Linked DNA regions of Homo sapiens: region 2 is linked to region 1. The links are contacts of gene promoters, found by promoter capture Hi-C in blood cells and fetal thymus (Javierre and others, 2016). All regions are on one chromosome and are shown on one strand. The core of a region is centred on a gene start or on the middle of the fragment in contact, and the rest is flanking DNA. Distances in the headings are between cores, read along the strand shown. Region 1 overlaps LOC105369321 (a long non-coding RNA gene). Region 2 holds the start of MS4A1 (membrane spanning 4-domains A1).

The links. The method cuts DNA at HindIII sites, captures the fragments that hold promoters and counts their contacts. A CHiCAGO score of 5 or more calls a contact.
Region 2: a contact is called between the fragment with the promoter of MS4A1 here and a fragment that was not itself captured in region 1, in 3 of 17 cell types (total B cells, naive B cells and M2 macrophages). The highest score is 8.1, in total B cells.

What each region holds. Positions count from the first base shown.
Region 1 is chr11:60,610,822-60,617,558 of GRCh38, reverse strand. It overlaps LOC105369321 (a long non-coding RNA gene), which reads left to right. Exons shown (of 6, transcript XR_001748240.2): 5 at 6,152-6,315. LINC00301 (long intergenic non-protein coding RNA 301) reads right to left here and starts at 1,808. Exons shown (of 7, transcript NR_026946.1): 1 at 1,707-1,808. The HindIII fragment of the contact is 7,080 bases long and covers 1,195-6,737 here.
Region 2 is chr11:60,453,408-60,460,370 of GRCh38, reverse strand. It overlaps MS4A1 (membrane spanning 4-domains A1), which reads right to left and starts at 4,524. Exons shown (of 8, transcript NM_152866.3): 1 at 4,426-4,524. RefSeq lists an enhancer at 2,336-2,445. The HindIII fragment of the contact is 9,401 bases long and covers 3,424-6,963 here.

The DNA.
Region 1 (6,737 bases), core at 3,485-5,984:
GAAACCCCATCTCTACTAAGAGTACAAAAAATTAGTTGGGCATGGTGGCAGGCATCTGTAATCCCAGCTACTTGGGAGGCTGAGGCAGGAGAATCGCTTGAACCCAGGAGGTGAGGATTGCAGTGAGCTGAGATTGTGCCACTGCACTCCAGCTGGGGTGACAGTGTGAGATTCTGTCTCAAAAAAAAAAAAAAATGGAAATCTACCCTTCAAGTACTATGCTTATTACCTGGGTAATAAAATAATCTGTATACCAAACCCCTATGACATGGAGTTTACCCATGTAACAAACCTGGACATGTTAAAATAAAAGTTGGAAAGAAAAAAAAATCTTTCAATGGCTCCTTGTTGTCTTCGGGCCACAGTACACATTTCTTTGTGTGGCACATTGGAGCCAGGTATATTTGGCCTATGCTTCTTTTCCCCACACAGCACTCCATCCATTCCTGACCGCTGACATTTCCACTACCATGTGATATTTAAGTACCTTACGATTTTTAAGTGCCTTCCCATATACATCATTGCTGCTGCAAAATCTCACAATGTCACAGTATCTGGCTCTAGCAATGAGTTTGCACATTGTTGGAAAACAATAATTGCTTGCAGAATCCTTTCTATCCATTTTGGGTATCTTGTGCCTTGAGTTTTGCATTAGAGATTATATAAACAGAAACTCATATTTTGGATGATAGGAATGGTTGATTTCCAAGAACAGTGATTTTCCAAGAGTTTCCCTGATTGTGTATTCCCTTTCCTGGCTGATGTGTTACCAGGAAATGCATGATACATTACCACATTACGTATAAATGGGTAGATTTGTTTATGCCAGTCATGAAACATGTTTGGGAAGTTCAGCCTTAGAGCATAGGTTCTCTGGCATTTATTGAATTAGTTTTGGGCAGCCTTGGAAGGTTACCCCAAAGACACATACTGTCTTTCTCCATAGCAGATGAACCCAAGGAGATAGAACAGACTTGACTGAGACATGCGGCAGGTACTAAAAAGTCTTGAGAAAGCAAACCTCGGTTTCAATGTTAAGGATCAAATTGAATTTATACACGCAGACAATATGAATTTCAAGAGGCGATTCTCAGAAGAGCCACTTTTCACACGAGGACTCTGTGGCCTGCTCCAGAGGAGCAGCAGCAGAATCTACTTATATAATCCTGGTTAAGGATTCTCCCTACTAAAGCTTTGTAGGTCAGCCAGGAAAGGGAATACACACAATCAGGGAAACTCTTAAGTTACTGTTCTTGGAAATCAACCATTCCTATCATCCAAAATATGAGTTTCTGTTTATATGATCTCTAGCGCAAAACCCAAGGCGCATCTCCTAAGCTAAAAAGAATATAGAAAGATGGTAAAAGATGGAAAGTAAGAGTCATTATTGCCACAACCATGACCCTGGGATCCCCAATTCACTACACTATCTCCATATTCTCCTCCTGTGAATTAGCCAATTTATTTTTACATGAGAGGATGCTGGGTGTGTCAAACAGGTCACTTATTGAAAACACACATTGGAAGAAAAGGTATTGAAAGAAATACGTGAAAAGTGCCACAGAGTATTAATTAAGGCTCTTTCCAACTGGAAGTGGTTTGGAAAACACTGTGACTATGGGGTCGTGGGGAACACCTGACCCTCAGCAGGTGCTAGTTTTATTCCCAGCGCCAGTGCAAATCCAACCAGGGATCCCTACACTCACGCGTGGGCCAACAGAGTGTGATCTGGCAGTCAACTTCCTCAATTTGGGGCCTGGCAGCCCCGGGAGCCCGGTGGGCGCTTCCTCGGTGGCGCCCCTCACCCTGCCTCGCGGGGTTCTAACGTCCAAGAGCGGGGCTGTCCGAGAGACCCGCGCGGACACCTGAGGCGCGGTGGGGCTCCCATGGCTCCGCGGAGCCTGCAGGCTCCCAAGACGAGGGTGGGGTGGCGGCTGACAACAATGCTGCCCTTTGCTGGCTGTGTGGGCATCATCCTCTGTCCCTGGGCCTGGCACACCCAGGAGGAAGAGGCTGTGCTTGATCTGTCGGCGGACTGATCACGTGGTGGCCCCACTGCTAACCCCAGACACACCCCCGCTTAGAAGCAGCATCGTTGTCAGAAGCTCGTTGCCACTTAGAATCCTCTGCAAGATGTGGTGGGTACAGCACTGCACTTAACTCCTTTGGTCCTTAGTTTATTATTTTGTAGAGTGGAGATGATACCCGCTCAGGTACCTCATACGCTTATACTGCAGAACTTTGAAAACCAAAGATGTTTTACAAACACATTCCACTGCGATTACAAACATATTCCACTGCAATAACCGGGTGCATATATGTCCGTCATGCTGAACCTGACAGTTTGAGTTGTATATTCAGTGTTTAACAACTATCCTCAACACATAGTAGGAATAAATGAATGATTGCAAGGTTTTGTCTAATTTATTAAAGTGTTAGCATCAGCTGGCTAATGAGTAATAGATGACAGTCATGTTTGTTGAACTCTTTTATGTTTGCCGTTTTTATGATTAATGAATTTAGCAAATTTCCACTGAGTGCCAGTATGTGCTAGGCATTGTTCTCAATGCTGGGGATACTGTAGTGAACAAAACAGATGAAATTCTAATAATAAGGAAAACAATAATAAGATTCATAAGGAAAATTTATAGCATGTTAAGAATAATGAGAGCTAAGGAGAATAATAAAGTATGAAAGGGAGGTGGCGTCAATGGAAATGTAAATGAGGGGAGTCAGGAAAGTCCTCATTACAAAAAAAACTTGCACACAAATGTTCATAGGAGCATTCTTATATATTCCTAATAGCCAAAAATGAAAACAACCCAAATCCCTATCAACTCATGAATGAACAAACAATATTTGGTATATCCATATAATGTATTATTTGATAATGAAACACAACAAAGTTATAGTTTATGCTACAGCATGAATAAGCCTTGGAATCATTACGGTAAGTGAAAGAAGCAAGTCACAAAAGACGTTCATATAAAATAGCCCTGGTAGGCAAATCCACAGAGACAGAAAGTAGACCAGTGATTTGCTAATACTGAGGTAAGTGGGTGGAGAATAAGAATTACTCCTAATGGGTTTGGGTCCAAAATTAGGTGGTGTTACTTACACAACTCTGTGAATATACTAAAAGCCACTAAACTATATACTTTAAATAGGTAAATTTCAGGCTGGGCACAGTCGCTCACGCCTGTAATCCCAGCACTTTGGGAGGCGGAGGCGGGCAGATCACGAGGTCAGGAGATCAAGACCATCCTGGCTCTACTAAAAATACAAAAAATTAGTCAGGCATGGTGGCGGGTGCCTGTAGTCCCAGCTACTTGGGAGGCTGAGGCAGGAGAATGGTGTGAACCCAGGAGGCATAGCTTTCACTGAGCTGAGATTGCGCCACTGCACTCCAGCCTGGGCAACAGAGCGAGACCCCATCTCAAAAACAAACAAAGAAACAAAAAAACCCACAAATAAATAGGTAAATTTTATAATATGTGAATTATATCTCAATGAAACTGTTACAAAAATGAAAGGCAAGATGTGTGCTTTATCTCTTTACTTATGAAATTTTGAAATAATGAACACCCTCCAAGGGTGACTATGATTCTTTTTCTTTTTTTTTTTATGGGGGAAGGAGAGATTGGCCTTTTAAATTTTTATGTATTTGCTTTGTTGACCAGTGCATGGTCCATATAGTGTCACTGACTTCCTCTCCCTAGAATATAAGCTCCCTGAAGGCAGGATCTTGTCTCTTCTGTTTAAATCTGTTGCCAGAAGCAAGAATTATGCCTGGTGCAAAGTAGATTGTCAAAAAGTAGTTTATGATGAATGTATGAATAAATGGAGGAGCTACCCTATATTTACATTTGCGGCTCATTCTCTCCGGTATCTCAATTGTGATATCCTGCTCTGTGATCAAAAACAAATATCTTTCAGATCTGCCATGTCATGACTCCCTATCTAGAGCTGTTCTTTGTGTTAAACTAGCTCAGGCTCTGAAGCTGGGACCTTGTTCAAGGATGCATGTAAATGGGGTCAAAGATTGGGGCTGCAGTTGCACCTGGTCTCCACTTGCAGGGCAGACTCCCTTGGTGCTGGGTTGATTAGCTAGGAGGAAGGGGCCTCAATTTCTAATTGTACTGTTCAGAGGGGACTTACCTTCTATTTCATTTTCCCAGAGGAGCTGTTATTAAGCAATCTGTCCTTTTGAACGGGGTACTTTTGTCTAGTTTGCACAAAGGCATCTTAGGTGTTAGCAGCCCCTTTTCAGATTATTGGCCCCCAATCTCTACATTTCTTTCAAAATTTCTGGCATCATATCCTTCCTCATTCAGCCTGGATCCCACAGATCCACTAATTATCATCTTATTAAAACCCACAAATGCAAGTTTGCCACCTTGTAATGCCACCTTTTCTGTGTAGGATATTTTAGGGAAACTCTCACAATGGCATGGATAGACACCCAACAAAGATGTCATCTGAAAGTCCAGTATCTTCATCTGTGCTTCTAATTAAATCGTTGAGTATAATTTGGCCAATTTTGCCTCTGATTCCTGGCAACTCTTAATCCAAACAAGTACTTTATTCATTACCACCCCTCACTCCTAAATGACTGCCTTGTCAATTTTTTCAAAGGAAAGACAAAGTCTCTCATGTTCTTTCTTATCCTTCTCATATGGAGGAATGGATAAAGAACATTTACATTAAAGCTAATTTTTCACTATTTTCTTACTTGATCAGAATTAGGTGTCTTTCCTCTATTCTAAAGTGTAATCTGTCCCTGTGCTACTAATCTCATGTCCTTCAAAGGGCTTATAAACCTTAATCCATCAATTATCTCTTTCTCCCCAGTATATTCAAATATTACTCCCTGCTTTGTATTTCTTCTCAACCCATACATTTATGCAAGTCTCTCTCACAGTTGTGGTTTTTAGTTCATGAAGGTAGACCAAGCAGATGCTACTTATTCTTCATATGAACTCCAATTCCAAGGAGCACACTTACAAAAAAAATTCCATTGCCACATTGAAAAATAAGAAGCAACTCTCTTGGTGAACCAGAATCTGTGAATTCCTAAGAGAACAAAAGTATACAGACTAGACTGAAGAAAAACACACAATAATAAAGGACCTGCAACAGAAGACTGTTCTAAATGGTGGAAATTTTTGCACTTCATAAACAAATGGCATATATGTAAATAACACAGATACTCTAATCTTGAATTTGTATCCCCCCAAATTACTTAAGGGGCAAGATGGGGGGAACCCAGTTGCCCATTTCTGGGACAGCGAATGTATAAATGTGCGGGGTGCATGGCACAGACTTTAGGCAGCATTTAAAATCAACTGATAGAGGTACTGATAGCCACACGGATAGATCTTTAAAACTTACTGTTAGGAGGAGCAAAGTTTGTGCATGTAATTTATGGGTGTGTATGAACTTCATGGATTCCAGATACATTCCTACAATAGAATGCCATACATTTTTGGGGAGATACTGACAAATAAAATATGCATGTTTTATAAAGTGGAACAATTGCTCATGGAGGGAGGGAAGGGGGAGTGGGGTATGGAGATCAAAGAAAATTTAAAAAATAGGAAGCATCCTTATAGACACAACAAAACATTTCTAAGATAATTTGCTTAAAATTTGAGTGTGATAAGCCACAGTGTAAAATTATAGGCAAAAATATGTAACGTTTTGGGAGCTGGACTTTCTAGACAAACTAAATCCAGTAGCTATTAATTCATGTAGTCTCAATAACATAAAGATATGGCTAATTGTAATATACCTTCTTCACTGTAGGTAAGCTATGCATGTTTTAATAATATCCAGTGAGAAAGAAATAATTAGTAGTATTTAGAGCTAATAAGCAAAGAAGCCTTCACAAGCAATGGGATTATTTATCATTTATGCGAAGTCTCCTTCTCACAATGAAATAATTTTCTCGAGTTAGCATTTATTACATCATTATCAATTTTAGGTATAGATTCTACTCTAGTAACATGTGCCCATTCATAGAACTTCTCTTGTATGGAAGAATCCCTTAACTCAGGCTGACCATATTCAAACTGAGATAAATTCATGCACAGTTCCTCATGTAGACAAAAATAACCATATTCATCAATTTTAATTTTTATTAATGAAATAGGGGGAAGAGAATACTGAGATGGATTTAATGAAATTACATTTTCCAAGAAGCCTCTTGAACAGAATGAAGTTCTTCATTTGCCACTAAACTTTCCTCCTTGACTGAGCTCACTGATGGTTTCTTTAATATGCAGAGAAAGGATCTCCTTCTGCCATGAACCTGAGGTAAGTTAGATATCAGTAAATTGATCATTAGCACACTCTAAAATAAAGAACTATAGAATTTGGGTTAGAATTTTGGAAATAATTCTAATAGAAGTATTCTCCTCATTGAGATTTTTATTTTATTTATTTTTTTAGAGATGAGGTCTCTGTCACCCAGCCTGGAATGCAGTGGCACTATCATTGCTCACTGTAACTCTGAATTCCTGGGCACAAGCCCTCCTTCCACCTTCCCCTCCTAAGTAGCTAAGGACTGCAGGGATGTGCCACCACTCCTGGGTAATTTTTTCAACTTTATGCATTTTATTTTATTTTATTTTACTTTACTTTACTATTTTATTTTATTTTATTTTATTTTATTTTATTTTATTTTATTTTATTTTATTTTATATTTTTGTAGAGATGGGGTCTCATTGTGTTCCCCA
Region 2 (6,963 bases), core at 3,275-5,774, 160 kb after region 1:
AGAACAGGCAAGGGGTGAATCATCACCTGTGTTTTATAGAAGAGGAAACAAGGGCACGGAGAAGCTAGGTTACTTGTGCCAAGTTACATAATTAGTAAATATTTTTTGTTTGTTTGTTTGTTTTCATGACAGGGCCTCGCTCTGTCGCCCAGGCTGCAGTGCAGTGTCATGATCACAGCTCACTGCAGCCTCTACCTCCTGGGCTCAGGTGATCCTTCTGCCTCAGCCACTGGAGTAGCTGGGACCACGGGCAACCACCACCATACTCAGCTAATTTTTATATTTTTTTTAGAGATGGGGTCTTGCCATGTTGCCCAGGCTGGTCTTGAACTCCTGGACTCAAGCAATCTGCCCCCCTCCACCTCCCAAAGTGCTAGGATAACAGCTGTGAGCCACCATGCCCAGCCTGTAAAGATTTAAAATGAAGACTTGGATCTCTCAAATTAGGCATCCAGGGTACCAGGCTGCTTTGTCTCCTGTGAGAAATAGGAATTCAGCCTTTCCCTTATGACCCCTCTTTTCTCCTTCCAATATATGCACTATGTGAATGACTATAAATCAGTTGAAAAGTATTATCTGTCTGGCGCATGGGCTAGAGGAAAGAGAGAAGAAACTTTGGTTGTTTCTCACTTGATTTTGCCCCTGCCCTAGATAGCCAGATGCCACATGGTCCTGGGGATCTGCTTTGTACAACAAGCCACTCTACAAGACCTCTAACAAAAACAGATATTTTAATATAGCCCACTAAAGAGTTTGCGGACTGATTCTGGTCACTAGGTAGGATTTCTAGAGCTAGTCCAAACCTCAGAAACCATTCTGTTCATTTCACAAATGAGGAAGCTGCAGTCTGGGTATAGAATTTGCCTTAGTAAAGACCTCACAGTTAGCAACAGAGCCAAGCTAGAAGGCACTCACCATGGCTCTGATGTTGATGCTTTTTCTGCTGTACCATAGGTGAGTCCAGATAATTATAGTTGTTTACTGAGCACCTACTATATACTAGAGATATTGTATATGGTATTGCCAACTCACTCAACACCTTCGTAAGTAGGCATTTTGACTACTTTCTGCAGATGAAGAAATGGAGGTTGAGAGAGGTTATTTTTCCCAAGGTCCTATGGCAAGTATGGAATGAGCTGGGAGTCACTACACTCCGCCCCAGAGGGGTAACTTTAGTGAAGATAACTTAAAATGCAAAGGTCATCAATTGTTTGAACTGAAGGAGATGATTGGACTGCCATTGTTTTAATTTCATTTTATTCATCAACTGCTTGATTAAAGCTGTGTCTGTATTATTGGCGAGATAAACTTTTTTGTAAGCCAATTCTACTTGGGCTATGCCTGTTGTAACTAATGGCAATAATGACCATGAGGGCTGTGTGTGTGTGTGTGTGATATTTCTCTGTTAAAATGGTATCTCATGGTGGCAACTATACTTCTACAAACCTTAAACAAATATTTGTATAAAATAGTAGTTTATAAAGAAACACATGAGTGCTTTCTCTGTTTTTTTATTTCTTATGGAAACTATCTTTCATATATATATCTGATTATATATATATCTGTCTCATATATGAGAGGTAAATATATTAATCGATTTATGGCATTGTGGGCTGACTGTAATGAAAAGCTTTCGTTCCATGAGAATTCATAAATACATAAAACTCGCCTACGGAGATTGGAGATTCTCGCAATTTTGCCTTATCATTAAAATAAATTGTTCACAATGACTTAGTGCCCAATGCACAGTTATGCTCAAAGACTAGTTGGTAGATTAGTAGGGGTTATGGACCACATTAGCCGCAATATGATAACAATAAGATTTTACATTTGCTGGTGTCCAAATCAGCATGAATGTTAAAATAGAGACTCAGGTGATCACTCAGTACCGCATTTAATTACTCACACTAACTCCTGCAAATATTTTTTTATTTTTAAAGGCACCCCTGTTTTCATGTCCATCCACTGAATAAGATCTCACAGCCTTTATGGGTTTTGGTTTGAATAGACTTTTAAGTCCACTCGTACCATCATGTACTGAGAAGTTTAAAAACTGCCTCACTGTTGTTACCTCATCTTCATTCTCTTCCACTCAAAATAGTTTTGCATTTTTATCCCTTCTGGCCTCCTGTGCACCTATCTCCGAGGAAGAGTGCTCTTACTTCCCTTCCCTCTGTGCTTTTCAGCCCATCTCAGTCCAACCAAGCTGTTAGCCCTTCCAAGAAATTATTTCTTCTTTGCACCTTCAGTCTCCCAATTTCTGGCAATATGTAGCAGACAGAGTTAGTCCCAGCTCTCTTGCTTGCTCCTCTTGTGGTCTCTCTGTAAGTTTAAGGTAATAGTTACCTTCCCCATTTCAAAGTATCATTTTGAGAATATGAGATAAGTTGCATTTGTTAAGGTGCTAAATACTCCTTTTATGACTAAAATGTACTTCAGTGTCCCTGAATCCCAAAGTCCTCTTCTTTTAATCTAGCAATGTCCTTGCCCACTGCCCAGGCTCACTTTTTCTTCACCGCAGCTGCTTCAAAGCTTTGCTACCCACTCTCTTCCCCCACCTCCTCTCCACCCACTCACTTCTCAATGCTTGGCAACTAGTTTCCGCCAGTCAGTGGACTGAAACTGGTCTTTGAGGACTGTGCTGTGAAGTCAGTGGTCTTTTCTCAGGCCTCGTGTCTCAGATTGTTTTATTTGTTTCTCCTGCCACCCAGGCTTAGATAGTTGGGACCACATTTCACTTTAGCTCCATCATCTCTCAGTCCATCTTCATCTTGGCTGTTGGTCAGTCAGTGGCCAAGTCATGCCATTTCTACCTCTGCAATACATTTTGCATGTGGGTCTTTTTTCTATATCCAGAGTCACCTGTGAGTTTCTCATTTCCATTCATGCTTTTCTGCCTTCAGTCTTTCTCTTTTCTAATCCATTGTCCACAAGGCTGCTACATCAAGCTCCCGATCACTGTTTTGAGTGATGCTCTTCCTGAGCCTGAACTCCTTTGCTGGCCTGTCATTACCTGCTGGAGAAACCCTTCATCTAACCCCTCAAGGCCTTTGGAATTCAGCCCTGTATGACTTCCCAAGCTCATATCCCACTACCGCCACCAGAGCCACTGGTCTATACATGTCCTCTACCTTCTTTCCTGAATCTTCTCAACTTTGAAGTGTTCCTTCTCCCTCCCTCTTTACTTTCAATCAAACTCTGCATTAGATATGCACATCACCTGAGGGCGTTCCTGCTCTCCTTGCCTGATTGCAAGGAATTCTTCAGAGCTCCTAGCTCTTTGCTTTCCTTACTAGACATCAACTACTTTCTTCGGAGAATCCTGTATCCTACTAGACTTGCATAGGGAACCTGTTTTCTATGTACTATGAGCTCAGTTACATTAAGCTGAACATCAAACTCAGCTACTTCCTCAGGGAAGCTTAACAAGTGCTCACAATGGCCAGGTGCAGTGGCTCACACCTGTAATCCCAGCACTTTGGGAAGCCGAGGCAGGTGGATCCCCTGAGGTCGGGAGCTCGAGACCAGCCTGGCCAACATGGAGAAACCTTGTCTCCACTAAAAAATGAACAAACAAACAAAACACACACACAAAAATGCTCACAATGCTGGATTAAACATTTCTTTCCACCGGATTCTCAGTGAGATTAAGCCATTTTATGGGAAACAGGGAAAGGGAATCACTTATATACTGGATTCAGAAAACAGTAATGGCATGATTAAAATTAATCCTTGTTTTCCTTCATTAGAGCTCCCCCACATCTGCAGCGCCCCCTCTTACTCTTGGTTTCCCATGTGATAGATTTGAGGCAGGATTTCATGCTCAACTTGGTGTCCACAAATCCCCTCCAGAAAATGTTAGCCTGTAAAGCCACCTATACTTCTAGGTATATTTACATTTAATGTAGACAAAAGCATTTACAGGAAGACAAATGGAGTTTTTTTCATTATGCCTATGACTGATTATTTTCTCATTTGGTATTGGGAAGTCCTAAGGGATTCAGGATTTTAGTTCCAATTTTCCTAATGTAATGGGTACCATTGCCCCCATTTTATAGATGAGGAAGCTGAGGCTTTAGAGGTTTAGTAATTTGCCCAAGGTTATATTGTTTGTTAGTGGTAGAGCTCCAGTTTGAACCCAATGGTTTAGAAACCATGATTTAATATATATGCTGCAATCTACTACTTTTGTGGAATGATTCACAGTTGACTGCATAGGGTAATTGTTGAGAGGGAGACTGATTAGAGGAGTGAGTGGGCAGCAAGCCTTGATATCGTCACCCCTCCTTAAGTCATAGAACTATTAGGAAGTCTGACTAGGGAAACTCTAGAATTAAGATCAAGAACCTCCAGTCTTCAAAACCATTCTATACCTTATCCATCACCTCCTTTAAGTCATTTAAAGAAAGCAAATTGATTCCTTACCTGAGTCTCCAAGGCCTCAAATCTCAAGGGCTGATTTGGATGCTAGCTGCGGAGTTCAGTGGGTGCAGTTTGTTTCTCAAGCACACTGGGAGGGTGAGTGGTGTAGTCCAGGCCTGAAGATGAAATCGCTGATAGACATCAGGTGACAGGAAATCAGTAGCTTCTGCTACCTTGGGCTTCGCTCCAATTACTTTGGTTTAACACTTACCATAGCTGAAGGAGGTGCAAAAAAAGTTTCTGCCTTACCAGGTTTCACTTCTTGAAAAAGACCCCAGGGGACTGCCTGGCATGCTCATGCTACCTTAATTAGAAGAACTTCTGCAGCCCCCACCCTATAAGCAGGTGTGGATGGTAGGTCCCTGAGGACAAGAAAGATTCTAGAAGTTGGTCAAAGATGGGCCGTTAGCACTGACTTTTACCTTCTGGCTTCACTTTTAGGGCTGAGTAGGTGGGCAGGAGGCATCCATGCAGAGATTCAAGAATCACTGAGGCTGTACACTTGGCAGCACTATACTTAGGGGTCCCCAAATATTGTCCTCATTGGCTCACACTTAAGTTTCTTATGAACCATGTATATATCTTGTGTCAGATTTAGCAGAAATGGCCTAAAATTATACTTTAGTGCCATAGTACATGTACCCAGCCACTCAAAGCAAGAATTAGCCTCCATATTTGGAAATATAAATTGAAATAGCACTTTTACCTCTGAACCCACCTTTTTCTTCTGTCTGTCAAGTTCCCTTGTGTCCCCTCTCTTTTTAGTCTAGTCTGGAGCTGCAGGGTCATCAAGCACAGTACTAGATCAAGTAGGGAAATGGAAGAAGTTGGTAGTGTCAGGAGAGTCTAAATATTTGGGATGTGAATCAAAGTTTTGCCCAAAGATAATGTCCTCTCTCTCCCCCTACAATATTCAACTTTTATGTTCATATGTGGGATTTTTAATTACATTTTTATTTCCCTGTTCATTGCTTCATTTTATTAGAGACACAGAGCTATAGTTAGGTAATTATTTGTTTATTTAATCTAAAGGGATGAAATATGGCAGGCAGCTCTGTTGCCTAATTCGAGGTTCATTCCTGTCTCTCTCTTTCATCTCTTCTCTCTTTCTCTTTCTGCCTCTCTTTTTAAATTTAAGATAGTTTGGAACCATAGGGTTAGATCCACTGGGTAGAAGTAGTTCTGGGGAGGCTGATTGTGGTGTGATATTTAAAAAGATGCCACTCTAAAAAAAAAAATTGTTGGAGCCGTTCATTAGGGGAACTGGCTACCATTTCAATAGAGAATTTACTTCTTCAAGAATACTCAAGTAAAGTCATGCAGTCACCTCTCAGAGATGCTGTAGAGTGAAGGAGAGTGGGAACAGAAGATCCATCATCCATTTAACATTCTAATTGAGGGTCTATGCATATCTGCTGAAATGCTTGAGTGATTGGTGATGGGAGGACAATTACCTAGGGTCTGAGTTGTGGATGATTGTGAAACCTGAGGTTTGAGTCCTGGATGGTGGGGTGGTTAGAGGCATGTGCCTTCATTTTAGTTGGCATGGGAACAGGGTCAGGACTTGGCAAATGTATGGCAGCAAAGGGGCTTGAGTTGTGGCAGCACAACCTGGTCTTTTGCATCCTTTTCTCTGTTTGAGCCCTGTATTTCCCCAGTCAGTCTCAGGTTGTTTGCTACTTTGTGGCCAATGAGATAACTTAGGTGGCTCTATGTATGATTCTTCCCAAATAAACTTGAATTTGAATTTGTATGAATGCATAAACATTTACCTTGTCTTTGCTCATTTGAATGATCAACATTTTAGTGCTTGAGTGTGTTGAAATTCTCACTACAATTTGGACTTGTCAATAGCATCTTATTTGATGTATCACCATCACTCTTCCCCCAAGGTTTGAGAATATTTTATTAGGTTGATAACATATTTAAAATATTTCTCTTTGAATTAAGCCTATTTTCATTATCTAGTGACCTTGCTTCCAAAAGACAATCTTAAAGTCTACATAAAAGTATGCCAACTTTTATTTAGTTAGTATTTTCCTGATGTGAATTTCCTTTTTATTCTCTGCACGTCCCAGCACTCCAATTTTTTTAATCATTGCCTTCTATATGAAAACTGTGTGCTACATCATAATTATTTGTGTCCTTGCCTTAATCAGCCATTGTCTCCTTGTCCCTTGAAGGCAGGGTCAGTTTTTGTGATTGCTGTGTCCCTGGCAGTGCTGAGAAGGAATGGTTCTGTTTGGCTTTTTCTTTCACCCAGGTGATTGTCCCCAGGCTCTCCAATATTAGGAAGTAACATTATGCCACGTTCTCAACTTCTCAGCAAGGCCCTGGCACCCAGAATTATCTGCTGTTGGAGGGTTCTGGTGTCAAAGAATTGGTAAGGGAGACATAGGGCTCGTCAGAGGTGAGGCTAAAGATCTAATTGCAAATAGAACTTGGTTACAGGTCAGAAAATCCCATTGTTGCACTTATAAATAATTCATAGTAAGGAAAATGTAAATTGAAATACTTAAGAACTTTATAGTTGATAGGGTC